Regions from separate parts of the Homo sapiens genome. Here region 2 is linked to region 1. Evidence: promoter capture Hi-C in human tissues and cell types (Jung and others, 2019). All regions are on one chromosome and are shown on one strand. Each heading gives the region's core, a stretch centred on a gene start or on the middle of the fragment in contact. The rest is flanking DNA. Distances are from core to core; before and after follow the strand shown.

Region 1 (7,840 bases), core at 3,631-6,130:
CTGTGTAGAGACTAGGTCTTATTATGTTGCCCAGGCTGGTCTGGAACTCCTGGACTCAAGCAATCCTCCTGCCTCAGCCTCCCAAAGTGCTGGGATTACAGGCATGAGCCACCATGTCCAGCCTCTACAGCCACATTTATACCATAAGTCACTACCATATTTTTTAATGGCTACATTCTTTTAAATGGGCCATAACCAATCACCTACTAATAGATATTTAGGTTATTTCCAATAGTTCACTATTACAAAGCAATGCTGCAGTGAAAATCTCTTTACGTAGATCCTCAAGCAATTATCTCTATAGGATAATTTTCTACAAGTAGAATTCTACTGTCAAGAGCAATGGCTGACTGAAGGCTTTTTATGCCACTTCAGAATCTGGGAAAATAGCTGACTTTTGCCAGAGATGAAATTAAAATGTCCCTTAAGTAAAATTTACACAGCCACCACTACCCCCCCATGATTGTTTGGATGTTGTGTTTGTTGTGTTGCTTGCTACATCCAGCCTGTGAAAGAACAAGTCTAGGCCAGTTTGGAAAAAATATGCAATCACAGGATCTTTTCCAGTCAAAGCTTTCAGGTCTCAAAAAGCAGGCTAACTCGGGAGACAGGATGAGGCAAAAGAAGGAGCAGGTCAGAAGAGCAGCTGGGGCCCGGAACCAGGCTGGGCATGAATACCAATTGTACCACTCACTAGCCATGCAAATTGGGCAGATTATTTAACCACTCTAAGCCTTTTCCTAACCTATAAAATAAGGATAGCAATAGCATCTTATCTCATAAGGCTATTGTGAAGACTAAATAAAAACGTGGGCATTTAGTGCTATACATTTCCCTCTTAACACTGCCTTAGCTGTATCCCAGAGATTCTGGTATGCTGTATCTTTGTTCTCATTAGTTTCAAATAACTTATTGATTTCTCCCTTAATTTATTTGCCCAAAAGTCATTCACGAGGAGGCTGTTTAATTTCCATGTAAATGTATGGTTTTGAGCAATTTTCTTTGTACTCAATTCTATTTTTATTGCTTTGTTGTCCAAGGGTGTGATTGGTATAATTTTATTTTTGTTTTTTGCATTGGCTATGAATTGCTTTATGTCCAATTCTTTGGTTGATTTTAGTGAATGTGCCATGTGGCAATGAGAAGAATGTATATTCTGTTGTTTTGGGGTGGAGAGTTCTATAGATGTCTACTAGGTCCATTCAGTCAAGTGTTGAGTTCAGGTCCTGAGTATCTTTGCTTTGATGATTCGTCTTGCCTTGATGATCTGTCTAATACTGTCAGTGGGGTGTTGAAGTCTCCCTCTGTTATTGTGTGGGAGTCTAAGTCTCTTCATGGGTCTCTCAGAACTTGCTTTATGCATTCACCCCCTCTGGAGGATGCAGCAACAAGGCATTATCTGCAGAGAGCAGCCCTCATCAGATACTGAATCTGCCAGCACCTTGATCTTAGACTTTCCAGCCTCCAGAATTATAAAAAATAAATTTCAATTATTTATTTTTTAAAAAGAACTTGCTTTATGAATCTGGGTACTCCTGCGGTTGGTGCATCTATATTTAGGACAGTTAGGCCTTTTTGTTGATTTGAACCCTTCACCATGATGTAATGCCCTTCTTTGTCTTTTTTCATCTTTGTTGGCTTATAGTCTGCTTCGTCTAAAATTAGGATTGCAACCCCTGCTTTTTTCTGATTTCCATTTGCTTGGTAGATTTTTCTCCATCCCTTTATTTTAAGCCTATGGGTGTCATTGCATGTTAAATGGGTCTCTTGAAGACAGCATGCTGTTCGGCCTTGCTTCTTTATCCAGCTTGCCACTCTGTGCCTTTTATTTGGGGCATTTAGCCCATTTACATTCAAGGTAAAGGGAACACTTATACACTGCTGGTGGGAGGGTAAATTAGTTAAACCATTGTGGAAAATAGTGTGGCAATTTTTCAAAGAACTAAAAACAGAACTACCATTCAACTCAGCAATCTCATTACTGGGTATATACCCAAAGGAATATAAGTCATTCTACCATAAAGACACATGCACACGTGTGTTCATTGCAGCACTATTCACAATAGCAAAGACATAGAATCAACCTAAATGCCCATCAACAGTAGGCTGGATAAAGAAAATGTGGTACATATACATCATGGAATCTATACAGCCGTAAAAAAGAATGAGATCATGTTCTCTGCAGGAACACAGATGGAGCTGGAGGCCAATATTCTTAGCAAACTAATGCAGGAACAGAAAACCAAATACTGCATGTTCCCACTGATAAGTGGGAGTTAAATAATGAGAACTAATGGGCACGAAGAAGGGAACAACAGACACTGGGGCCTACTTGAGGGAGGAGGGTGGAAGAAGGGAGAGAATCAGGAAAAATAACTATCAGAACTATCAGGTACTATGTTTAGTACCTGGGTGACAAAGTGGTCCGTGCACCAAACCCCCATAACACAAGTTTGTCTGTAACAACAAACCTGTACATGTACCCCTAAATCTAAAATAAAAGTTAAAAAGAAATGTAATTTAAATCACAGCATCCATCACACAGCATGTGCTCAACAACTCTCAGGTATCATTAACATAACACAAAAAGATCTTCCTGTTTCCAAAATTGTATTAAATTAGAGTAGATTCTGAGGGGATATGGGGAAAAGAATGGAGGGTGTCAGGTTCCTGGAAGAGATTTTTCCATTCTCTGCAAAGTCACATTGCTAGGAACAGAGGGAATGGGAAGGAGTGGGAGGAGGGGCAGCCAGGGCAAGAAACTGTTTTCTCAAAGGGAAAAACTCACAGTAGGAGGTGGAAGGATTTTGGGTTCCTGAGAAGAGGTGAGGAGGAAGAGTTGATAGAGACTACGTGGTTTAGAATCCAGGTTACAAATGTGTTCATAGGAACTCTTCTTCTCTTTGGATGTGCACAATAGACACATGCCCAGACCCTGATCTTTAACAGATATTGGTCAATTCCTCCTCACCCTTTGGCATCAGGCAAATGTGTAAAAACCTAACGTCTCCCTTTGACTTCAAGGCCTCATGTACGGTTGCACAAGACATCTGTAGAGTGGCGTCCCTAGCATTGTGTAGTGCCCAACCTGAACAGGTGTACCTGGCAGCCCTGCATGGCCTCCACCCTCACGTGCTTCCATATTGCATTGTGTACCATCTGGCCATCTGTGGTCTTGTACAGACCATCAGGTCCCTGAGAACAGGAACATGAATTATATAGTTTTTTTTATTTATTTATTTTTATTTTTTTTGCCTCCCATGGTGCCTGGTACTCAGTTAGTGATCAATAATTCTCCCCTAGCAACTCTGTTCCCTTCTGATTAGCCCCAGGGAGAGGAAGCAGCCTCCTCTGAGACTCAACCCTACCCTGTGGGAACGCTCAGTCCAGGCATCACATCCAGTGCCCAGTCCTCTGCCTGCCCTCCCTTTGATACCAGCCCAACTCAAGCACCAGGAAATCATTAGCAGAGACTCTCAAAGGAAAAGAGGCTTCAAGTTCATGTCACCCAGGGCCACAGTATACGGCCCCGCAGGCTGCCCACCGCGCAAGCCCAGGGAGCAGCCTTTTCATGGATATGATGCAATATGTATGGATCCTGCCATCCAACCCTTATCCAAGCAGGATTCCAGAGGCCTCAAGGCCATTCTTGGAGAGCTCTCATTTTCAGGTGGTTCCTTGCACCAAGCCAAAATCTGTCCCCACCTCCACCCAACAGTGGTTCACACCCTGGTCCCTATTCTGCCCTCTGGAGTCCTACATACAAAGCCTAATCACCTGTTTCAGACCCCACCCAGGCCTCCTAGGTTCCAACCAAGCCAAGAAGCAATTGTGTTTCTGAAGGAGACCCCTCCTCCCTTGTCCCACCTCTGCAGTGGGGATAGATGGAAAGAGCAAGGCCTAGGATAACCTCACACACTAGGTGGCCCCGCCCCTGGCATGCCCACCTCTCTCTGCTTCTGCTCCACGCCCCAAGCCTGGCTCCCAGCCTGAAACACACAGGCCCAGTGCAAAAGTAAAGCAATCAGGAAGTCAGGAAGAAAAGACTGCATTCCTGCTTCCTTCTCAGCAAGTTTTGCAAGCAATGGGCCTCCTCGGGCACAAAGCAATCTCCACAGCCAGGGTTCTCTCAGGTTGCTTTTCGGGGAAAGAGCCTCCAAGCTTCCTGAGAGCCCACCCACCATCCCAGCTGGTTATTCCCTCTGATGGTAAGCATTCCAGGTAGTGTGGAGCAGCCACCACCAGTATTCCTCCCTGGGACTCATACAGTCCCAGTTTGGGGATAAAACAAACATTTCCCCAGAACAGGCAGGGAGGATACTGGCATCCTCTCAGCTCCCAGGAAAAGGGTCATGGACACATCCCCTCCTGGAGGCCAGTGACATTGCCTGTCCCACACCCCCTTGGACTATGCTACCTGTATCTAGGAACCAAAGGCAACACCCAGCTCCTTTCACTCTCATGGGTTCTGGGGACAAATGATAACCCACTGGACATGGGGAGGGCACCTTCCCCCAACCAAGAAACTAAGGAATCAAGAGCGGAGCTGGGAAAAGGAGCTGCAGGGAAGGAGATGGGCTGGACCTAGATTCAGGTGGGCCCTGGGCAGGTCCCCAGTAACTGAATGAATGCCCATGAGGCACACTCAGTGGAGGGCAAAGGGGAGAAATAAGCCCAGAAGCAGCAAAGTGACAAGGGAGGAGTACAAGTAGCACCCAGGAATCCAGCAGAGGTCAGGGAGCTTGGGAGAGCTAGGGCAGGCAGATAAGGTTCTGGGCTGTTCCTCTTTGGGGCGACAGCCAGAGAAATAGCTCAGATAGTTGCATAACCCTTCTATTTGCCCAGAGCTTTTGTCCAGAAACTCTCTGTCCTGAGAGGTGATTAAAGAAGGCATCCAGCAAGAACTGCACAAGAAACGGAGTCAGCCGGAGAACAAGGAGTGGTCTTCCACTGCCTCACAGGAGGATGGAGGCCCACAACGCGTCTGCCCCATTCAACTTCACCCTGCCACCCAACTTTGGCAAGCGCCCCACAGACCTGGCACTGAGCGTCATCCTGGTGTTCATGTTGTTCTTCATCATGCTCTCGCTGGGCTGCACCATGGAGTTCAGCAAGATCAAGGCTCACTTATGGAAGCCTAAAGGGCTGGCCATCGCCCTGGTGGCACAGTATGGCATCATGCCCCTCACGGCCTTTGTGCTGGGCAAGGTCTTCCGGCTGAAGAACATTGAGGCACTGGCCATCTTGGTCTGTGGCTGCTCACCTGGAGGGAACCTGTCCAATGTCTTCAGTCTGGCCATGAAGGGGGACATGAACCTCAGGTAGGCCTGGGGGTGAGGAGGGAACAGCCTGGGACAGGAGCTACATTAGATATGTCACAATTGAGGGGAAGAGCTGGGCTAAAGCCAGGAAAAGGAGTGAATGCAGGCTGGGTGGAGGCTAGGGCAGGGGAAGTCTGGCATTTATTGCCAAGAGCTTATGCTGGGATGGGGGCAGGAGTTGGGGTACGTCTGGTTTAGGCACCAAGCCAAAGGGACCATACTGGTCCAGGAAGCTCGTGGTGATCTCCTTGCTTCCAGAGGTGTCTCAAGGATTGTCTTAAAGGAGCACTGATTAAAGCCAAAGGAACCTCTGGAGAACTGCATCCACCTACAACAGTGGACAAGTTGCCTGCTTTGAGCCCAGAGATTTAAAAGGTAGTGTGATTCGTTCCAAACATCATCAGGGAGATCAAGGTGACTTGGAACCAAATGAGCACCTCAAATTCCTGCAAAGCGGGCAAGAATTTCCAAAAGGTCCTCCCAATTACCTGGTCATCTAAGATGTTTTCTCTTTAAAGTCCCTCATTCCCCATCAGATGCAATGACATTTCCATGCAAAGGCACAACCAGGGAGATCCTAGAGTTTCCCAGCACCCACTCCAGATAGGCCAGCCCCATCTCAGCCACCCTGATAAGGGGAAGACAGCAGCACCCCCTAACCCCCTGCCCAAAGCATTATAAGCAGAAATCAGCAAGGGCTCGCTCCTGGAGACGCAGCACACAGGGGCTGGTTGATGCTCATCCTTCCAAACTGGGGAGACTCTAGTCTTGAACATCTGCCAGAGGAGCTACTTCAGACCTGCTCCAGCTCCAGCAGCCTGTGCTGAAGCTAAAGAAAACTCACTAGCAGAAGCTCTTGCTTTCAGTGAAACCTCAGTCTCAAGCCAGTCCCCCCTGGTTTAGTCCTCCGTGGAGACGCTATTCAATGCCAGGTATAGCAGCAGAACCCAGAAAGTCCATCTGCTTGTGTCTGTCAGCACCCTACTCCTAGCCAAACTTTCCTAGGAAAACTAACCCAGTCAAGAAGCCCCTCCTAGTGATGCAAAATGACACTGGGACAGATTTTTTAAATGAAAAAAGTGAGAATGGCTGGGCACGGTGGCTCACACCTATAATCCCAGCACTTTGGGAGGCCAAGGCAGGAAGATCACTTGAGACCAGGAGTTTAAGACCAACCTGGGCAACATAGCAAAACCCTGTGTCTACAAATATATACATATATATTTAATTAGCCAGGCATAGTGGCACATGCCTGTAGTCCCAGCTACTTGGGAGGCTGAGATGAGAGGATCTTTGAGCCTACGAGTTCAAGGCTACAGTGAGTCATGATCACACCACTGCACTCCAGCCTGGGCAACAGAGTGAGACCCTGTCTCTCTCTCAAAAAAAAAAAAAAAAAGGAAATAAAAAAGTGAGAGTGAATGAGAGTTGGGGTTTAACAGGATCTGCCATCTGAGAAGCTCTGGGCTCTTTTTCCATATGATTCAGCCCTCACTTTAGTAGTCAATGGGAAGAGAGGCACAAAGAGGGCATTTGGCTTGTGCCATCACCCACGGAAAGGTATTTCAATGTTCAACTACCTCACTGTGAGAAAATGCTTTCCTCTGTCTAATCCACATCCTCTCTGCTACAAAGCAAGCCCTTGGTCTTGGATCTGGCTTCTGGACAAGGCTCATGGCAGCCTGTGTGTCCCAAGAATCCTAGAGTATATCTGAATTTTGGTGTATGAGGGATGCAGAAGTCAGGGGCCTGCGAAGGGGTACTCTGAGGGCTTTGTGTTTCTGTGGAAGAAGCAGAGCAGGGGACGTGGAAGGCAACTGTGCTTTTAAGTGTGAGTGGCCAGATGTCCCAGCCCCATCGCCAGTGGCCACTATTGAGGCCTCTGCCACAATGCCTACATTGCTGTGGCTCTAGGCCCCACCCAGGCAGAGCCTCTGGTGACTCAAGAACATGACCCCTCATGCTCTCCTGCTCAACCTCCTTGTCCAGACCCCTGATGACTGTCATTTTTACCTAGACCCCCACAAGAGATAAGCTCTGCTGGGACAGCCACCTTCTGCCATAAAACTCCTTCCCAACAAACAACCCTCCCATGCACATTAAACCATGTCTCAGATCCCACTGTCGGAATGGGAATCTGGTCATCTACCTTCATGTGCTGCCAGACTTCAAATCCCATTCCAATTTGGGACAACTTGTTACATGCATTATAATAATGACAACGATTATAAGAAACAGCCAGGCACAGTGCTAAACACCTTACCTGGATAAGTATATGTGATCCTCCTACAGCACCCTGGGGGACAGCATGTAACAAGTAGCATTTAGAGGTAAGGAAACTGAATCTTAGAGAGGTCAATACATTGGCTCCAGGTCTGGGTGGCTCCGGAACCTGTGCTTTTACTGAAATATCTTCCAGGTCAGCATTTCCACAAACAAAATGGCCAGACAGCCTCAAAGGCATGGGCAGACACCCGTGTCTCAGCAGCAAGTATTGTGTGGGAGCCAGAGCTTCCCAC
Region 2 (7,840 bases), core at 3,562-6,061, 540 kb before region 1:
TTATTTAATTTGTACTGTGGCCAGGCTGTATTGCAAAAAAGACAGGTACTTAGAGCGAATATCTTGCCTGAGGCCTAAGGTTTGCAGGTTTTTTATGAAGCAGCCTAGAGGGCTGTTGTTTGGAATGGAGGACCGGAGTTTCCCATAACAGAGGGTAGGCTCAGGAGAACAGGGAAAAAGGAGACCATCCTGGAGGGAGATGATAAAAGGAGCAACTGTCACCGCTGCCTTTTTCGTTCCTGGAACACGATCAAATGGCTTAGAGGCATCCCCCTAAGACCAGATGATCAGCGAGTGCCTGGCACACGCCGGCGCCTTCTTGGACCAACACTGGATATTCGGACCAGAGAAACTAAGAGAGGCCGTGTGAATTTTCCCTGCTAACTGGGCCCCTGAGGAAACTTACCAGTAAGCAAGATCAGTGACCAATGTGCATGCACAGAGAGGCAACTGGAGATCGAGGAGCTTCCTTTGTCTGGCTGCTGTGGCCTGCTGTCTGGGGTGGAGGGGTAGGTTCACAGGGGACGTGGACCAGAACCTCTCCCGGGTTTCAGCACCAGATGTACGGTTCTTGTATCGGTTGGAACCCTGAGAGCGCACCAACAGACAACATGAGGTGGTGAGGAGCAACATGCTGTTTTGATGAGCGCGTGGGTGCAGGTGGGCTGAGGCCTAAAATGGCATCAGCCCCAAGTGAGGATGGGACAAAGGTTTTATAGTCTCCTGTAAACAGGAAGTGTCCTAGTCTGACATAATTGCTCTGTTGTACCTGGATGGCCTCTTTCTCAATCTTCAGGGGTACGTATTTTCCGGCCGGCTCTCTTCCTGCTTCTGCTATCTTGCTGGTGCACACTGCTGGTACAAGTAGCCTTGTGCCTTGGGACTGGGCCTGAGAAGGGATGAGTTGTTCATCTCCTTAAGCTTTCAGGTCCCAGGGAGAATCTTACACTATTCATCCCTGCTCTGAGATGTCAGGGAAATCTACAGGTGTCTTCTGAAATCCAAAGTCCATTCTAAGCTTGTTTTATAAGAGCGACACACAATAAGTAATGGTGAGTGAGTTTCTCCTTGTGGTCATTAACTTTTGTAGCAATACTGAAACCGCCTTTGCAAAATTATAACTGAGGAAATTATGACAATGAAAGAAATCAGACCTAACTGACTCCATCTTGCTTCTAACCTGTAAGCTGCCCTTGTTCATTCCTGGGCATAGGCCGAACTATGGGAAGGAATTCAGTTCATGGTTTGACTCTGAAACAAAATTGATAATAGCCCTTTCCCAAAAAGACTCCCTTCTTGCCTGGGGACCAGTCTGCCTTTGCAGGACCAACAAATTAGCTACAAGATTAGAAATTACAGTTTATGGGTCATGCAGCCTCTGGCTCCAAGAGCCTGAACCTCCCAAATTGCTCCTGGGGATAACATCGCTATTGTAAAACCTAACATCAGTTCTTGAGATATTTTGCAGACCCTGCACTGGATGGATCAGCTGACATTACCCAGACGGGTAATTGGGCTCAACCAGTTCTGCCATCCCACCCAGTGACAGAAAACAGCAAGGAAAGCTCACTTTGCCCCCTATGAGTCCAACTCCAAACTGACCAATCAGCACACTCCCCACTTCCCAAGCCCCTACCCACCAAATTATCTAAAAACTCTGATCCCTGAATGCTCGGGGAGACTGATTTGAGTAATAATAAAACTCCGGTTTCCACACAGCTGGCTCTGCAATTCCCCATTGTTATTCCCCATTGTAATTCCCCTGTCTTGATAAATCAGCTCTGTCTAGGTAGCACGCAAGGTGAACCCATTCGGTGGTTACAATTCTTTATTATGAAGTTTAAATCTTTTGAAAATACTGTGCCTCAAATAGGTGCCAGCAAAAACATGAAAGTGATTCTGTATATCTTAAGATGATGTTTCAGAATTTCACTATATAGTAAGAATTTGAAGACTTTCTTTACCTGTGACCTGTATAGCCATATTGTCCCTGGGAATACAATGTGATATACAGAATATTCTGCAGCAAGTTTTCATGAGATTTCTTTATCACTTGGTAAGGTAATGAGAACTCCAATTGCCTTATTTTGAAAAATCATAAAATCAAAAGAATTCTGGTCTTGAAGGAAAAAATGGCAAGTTTTACTGCTGGGTTTACCTTGTGTAATCATAGTACGAAAAGAAGGAAAACCTTAAACAAAAAAACAATAATGTTATAGAGTTTATTTGAACAAAGAAAATTCATGAATCAGGCAGCACTCAGAACCAGAAGTTGAGAGAGCTCCATTCTGCAATATGGGCAATGAGTATAGACAAAACAGGAAAGTGAAGTACAGAAATAGCTTGGTTGGTTATAGCTAGGCATCTGCCTTATTTGGACATGGTCTGATCAGTTGATCAGGTTTCAATTTCATTACTTACTAAGGAAGATCGCATAGCAATGGAATTACAGAGACATCCCTGGGCAAAATTTAAGTTAACAATGGACAAGTCATTTAGCTGGCTGTGCTTTTATTTCCTCATTTGTTGAATTTGTTTTTGTTTTTGTTTTTTTCTTAGCAAAAAACAAAAATAGGTCTATTGTAAGAGTCAGATAATACAATGCTTGTTATGATGTCATTTAAATCATAAGGTCAAATACAGGTATAGGGTGACGATTTTGGTATTTGGTAATGATGTGCTATAATGATTTCCTAGCCAGTATATACTGCATTTACTCTAAAAGATGAATGGTGACTCACCAGGAAAAATAATCTATAGAATTTTTGTATAATGTGCCTCTATTGTTGTTTAGAAAAGCAATCTATAGATAGGCTGAATTTGAATTCTGGTCTTCTGTTTTGCTTAAATGTTTCCTTTCTTTGTTTTAGTTGCTGATTGTTGGAGGTTCTTTTGGTCTTCGTGAGTTTTCTCAAATCCGATATGATGCTGTGAAGAGTAAAGTAAGAAATATAATTAGAGTTTGACATGTGTCTGTCTATATGTATGTTCTGGTTTAGGAGAATTGTATACTCAGTATACTAAGTAGTCTGAGTTTGTCTTGCTTTTCAACACTAAGATGTGATCTTTGTTTTTTTCTTTAAAATAACATTAGTGATCACATGGCAGTGAATCATGAAATGTAACTAATTTCGTAATCTTTCTTTTTTTCTTTTGCCACGGGGTCTCACTCTGTCGCTCAGACTGGAGTGCAGTGGCCTATCCTGGTTCACTGCAACCTCTGCCTCCCAGGCTCAAGCAATTCTCTTGTCTCAGCCTCCCGAGTAGCTGAGATTACAGGTGTGCGCCACTACCACCCGGCTAATTTTTGTATTTTTAGTAGAGATGGGGTTTCACTATGTTGGCCAGGCTGGTCTTGAACTCCTGACCTCAAATGATCCACCCGCCTTGGCCTTCCAAAGTGTTGGGATTACAGGTGTGAGCCACTGTGCCCAGTCTAGTAATCTTTCTTATTTCATTAGGAAATTTGCAATGTTGTTAGCATTCTCCCACAAAATATGATCTGATGTAGCTGTTTTTAGAATTTAGAAGGGATTAAAAAACAGAGGTCAATAATTTTGCTTTATTTTATTTCTCTTAATTTAATATTAATATCAGTAATTGTATAAAGTATATTGATATGTATCTTTAATAACTGTTACTAAAAGGAAAACTATTTTTCAGTATAAATAAAGACAGCTACATTTATAGTATCTACTTTGTAGTAGGACTATATTAGTTCATACACACACACACTCACACACACACAGATGATCCTTGACTTATAATGGGGTTATGTCTTGCTAAACTCATTGTAAATTGAAAATATCATAAGTAAAAAATGCATTTAATATCTGATTAAATGGATCGTAAAGTAAAAGAAACGTACGTTGAAACATTGCAAGTTGGGGCTATATGTTATCGTCTTTATTTTACAGGTGAGGAAACTGAGGGGGTCTATACATTAACTATAGTGGGTCTTTACTTGAAAAAACTGAAGAAAAATAAAGCTTATCTAAGTTGGCTAAGGTCACATGGCTACTTAGGGGTAGAGCTAGGATTCTCACCCTCTAATCACACAATTGTGAAATTCAGGACACATAAGAACTCTGGTTTTTTCATTCAGAAGTACATAGCTTTTGTTTATGGCACATATCTGATATTTGTAGTTTTTTTCTCAAGTAATATATGTATTTTATTAGCAGACCTCAGTAATATTGATAGAAAAGTAGAGTATAAAGTCCTATTCAGTTTCCTCAGTTAATTTTATGGTTTTAGAGAAACCAACATCAGCTAGTTTTAAGGACAGTAGGTATTAGGGTAAATTTTAAATTTAAAAAAATGTGTACTTTCTATGAAGGATTAGAACAATTTTATTTAATGAGGAATTTTACTTAATTTTCAGTTAGCAACTTTCAATTTAACTGTGTTAAAAGCTTTCAGTTAGCATCCCAATTATTTTATCAAGGAATTTTTTTCTTTTTCCCTTTAAGATGAAAATTATGGTAGTATATGACATTTGGAAGGGAGAAAATAAGTATATATTTGAAAAATAATTGAATAGTGGTCATGTGTTAATACTTGTTAGATGCTGCAAGTAAAGTATTCAGAAACTAGTACTTATAAAGTTTATAATTGAGGCTGGAAGACAGCTAATTAAAAAAATGTACCCAGACATATAATATAGCAATGCCAGTAAAATGCCATTACTAGACGTTCAAGGAGAGGTGTATAGTTTTAACTTGGAAAAGGAGAATCAGAGAAAGTTTTCTAAAGGCATTAGCCTTTGAATTAGGCTTTAAGAATGAGTAGGAATTAGCTAAATGATAGAAATGACTTATATTCTATAAGGTAGAGGGATTATTGGGCACATGGTCAGTGTTTCATTTTAGAACTAACTCTCTGGCAGTGGAGTACAGGTGGATGGGTATTGGGGGAGCAAGAGAGAAGAGAAAATATTGTTTAGGTTGGAAGTAAAGAGATCTGTTAGGATTCTGGGGCAGTAGCATAGATGAACAATAATGGAACCTGAAATAAAATATTTGCAACGATGATAAAGAGAAATTAATGAGTTCCAGCAATAATTTTAGCAGCAAATTGATAGTATTTGATGACTAATGTATGTAATACAAAAATATGAATAAATCTAAGATGTCTCAAGGTTTTGGTTTTGAGGACTAGGTAAATGGTGGTGCCAATAACCCAGTGTATTAGTCTGTTTTCACACTGCTAATAAAGACCTACTCAAGACTGGGTAATTTATACAGAAAAGAGGTTTAATTGACTTACAGTTTCACAAGACTGGGGAGGCCTCAGGAAACTTAGTCATGGCAGAAGGGGAAGCAAACATGACCTTCTTCACATGGCGGCAGGAGAGAGAAATGAGAGCCTAACAAAGGGGGAAATCCCTTATAAAACCGTCAGATCTTGTGAGAACTTACTATCATGAGACTAGCATGGGGGAAACCACGTCCATGATTTGATTACTTCCCACCAGGTCCCTCCCATGACACATGGGAACTACAATTCAAGATAAGATTTGGGTACAGACACAGCCAAACCATATCACCCAGTTAAGGAGAACAGGGGAGGTTGAGCTACCAGATGAGGTTTAGGAAATGGAGTCAAAGTAAACGGAACAAGATTAGGTAAGGTTAAGAGAATGAGGTTGATTGAAGTTGTGAGGACAAGGTCAGTTGAAGTCAAGGGAATGAGGTTAAAAGAAGGAGGATGGTTAAGGTCTGTAGGAGGAAGATGAGAGGACATGGTTGAGGTGAGAAGGATCAGAAGACAAGGCTTATGACATTTAGAGGCCGAGGTTGGTTGATGATGTTGAAAAGTCAAACTCAGGTGATCAAGAGTCAGTGTTTGGGTGAGGTTGAGTTCCAGTTAGGTAGAGAGGATGAGGTAATGTTGAGAGGAGTTAAGAGGTTGAGTTTTGTTCTTCAGGATTGAAAGGATAAGATTGTTTGAGGCTGATAGTGGTTGCATGGGTTGAGAGATTGAGGTTAGGGTGGTCAAGAGGGTAAATTGCTGAGGTCAAGGGGGGTTGACACTGTGGTCTAAAGGAACAAATTGGATCAAGAGAGGATGGGTTCAGTTGAGAAGTTTGGAAAAGGATGTAGAAAGCACAATATGGATTTGGGGTGACCAACCGTCATTGTTTGCTTGAGACAGTCCTGATTTTTGTACTGAAAGTTTGGCATCCCAGGAAAAAAAAATCTTGCTTCTCAGTAATGGATGTGCAAAGTTCATGGGAAAGTATAAGCCTAAAAAAGTAAGGGCTGGAAGCAACAGCTTTCAAGTTTTAGAAAATGATTTGGAATAGTTTATCTGCTGTCCCTAGTGGCTGTTGCTGTTTTTTTCTCATGAGTGCTGATTCTAACCACCAAGGATCCACAATAATGGGTCATACATTGTTGGATCACACCAAAAGATGTGATTTAAGTGTGCAATATAAGTACATTGCAATTGCGAGCAGTAAGTCTTCGACTTTGCCTGCCTGTTGTGCTTTGTAACAGATGGTGTTAATTTTTAACATTATAAATATTGTGACCGTGTTTTCTAAGATTAGATAATGAAAATGAGAACAATTATAATATCAGTGCCAGTATGATTCAGACATCACTGAAAAGGAAAGCTAAATGACTCTGTTACTTTAATGACATATGGAAGGACACATACAACTGGATTAAGGAGTTAAATAACCAAAACGGAGCATACTGCACAATACGCAAACAAGAAATTAGATTGGGCATGGTGGAGACAGGAATGTGAAAACAGATATGAAGACTGAATCTCACAGGTCCACGATGAGGCAGGCAAGTACTTATAAATCAATCATAAGTTTACTCATCTCCCCAAAATACAACACTATACTCAGTCTAAAATAGAGCTGCTGAGTTAGCTTGTGTATACCATACCAGTGAGAACATGCATTATCATATTGTTCTCTTGATTGCTCTATGAAACTGACTAAAGTGACATTTTTCTGATTCAGAGGTTAGAACTACTAAAATATCCTATGGGTGAACAAAAGGGGGACTGGTACCAGGTTTGTTGACCTCCTATGTATACTGTTAAATTTTACCAAGGATCGTGCTTTCTATAGTATATCAATGCTAAACAGAAAAATGGCACCAAGAAATGTCCACCTTAGCTCTTAGGTACTTGATTTAGAAAAAATTGACTTTCAAATTATCTTCTGGGGCCGGGCATGGTGGTTCACATGTGTTAATCCCAGCACTTTGGGAGGCCAAGGTTGGTGGATCACTTGAATCAGGAGTTCAGGACCAGCCTGGGCAATATGGTGAAGCCTCATCTCTGCAAAAAATGAAAAAAGTAGCCAGGCGTGGTGGTGCGTGCCCGCAGTCCCAGCTACTCGGAGGCTGATCTGGGAGGATTGATTTAGCTCAGGAGTTTGAGACTGCAGTGAGCTGTGATCGTGCCATTGCACTCCAGCCTGGGTGACAGAGCGAGACCCTGTCTCAAAAAAACAAGAGACCCAAAAAGCCAAATTATCTTCTGATTTCTTTGAAGATTTTAATGAAACCACAGAAAATGTAAAACCAAAAATTGTTCATTATCTTGTCAGTTGTTGCTTTTGCCGAGTTTTCTTTATGGGATACCAATCAGATGTGTGTTATATTCTTCATGCCCAACATTTCTATTATGATTTTTCAATGTTTTGTTTTCCCCTCATTTTTTTTTTGTACTTTATTTTGTATATTTTCTATTGTGTTATCTTCTAGTCACTAAACCTCTTTTTTGCTGTGTTCAATCTCCACATGAAGCCATCCCTTGATTTAGTGATTTCAGTTACTATATTTTTTAGTTTTAAAATGCATTTAATTCTTTATTA

What was found. Contacts are between HindIII fragments. The study calls those that stand out against the background at their distance.
Region 2: a fragment that was not itself captured here is called in contact with the fragment with the promoter of SLC10A1 in region 1 in 1 of the 25 tissues and cell types used here (dorsolateral prefrontal cortex).

Annotation. Positions count from the first base shown.
Region 1 is chr14:69,794,281-69,802,120 of GRCh38, reverse strand. SLC10A1 (solute carrier family 10 member 1) reads left to right here and starts at 4,880. Exons shown (of 5, transcript NM_003049.4): 1 at 4,880-5,321. The coding sequence starts at 4,966. The HindIII fragment of the contact is 13,632 bases long and covers 2,368-7,840 here.
Region 2 is chr14:70,337,760-70,345,599 of GRCh38, reverse strand. All of the region lies in intron 3 of SYNJ2BP-COX16 (SYNJ2BP-COX16 readthrough), which reads left to right. COX16 (cytochrome c oxidase assembly factor COX16) reads left to right here. Exons shown (of 4, transcript NM_016468.7): 2 at 2,871-2,942. It overlaps LOC124903340 (a long non-coding RNA gene), which reads right to left and starts at 465. Exons shown (of 2, transcript XR_007064238.1): 1 at 407-465. The HindIII fragment of the contact is 4,614 bases long and covers 2,505-7,118 here.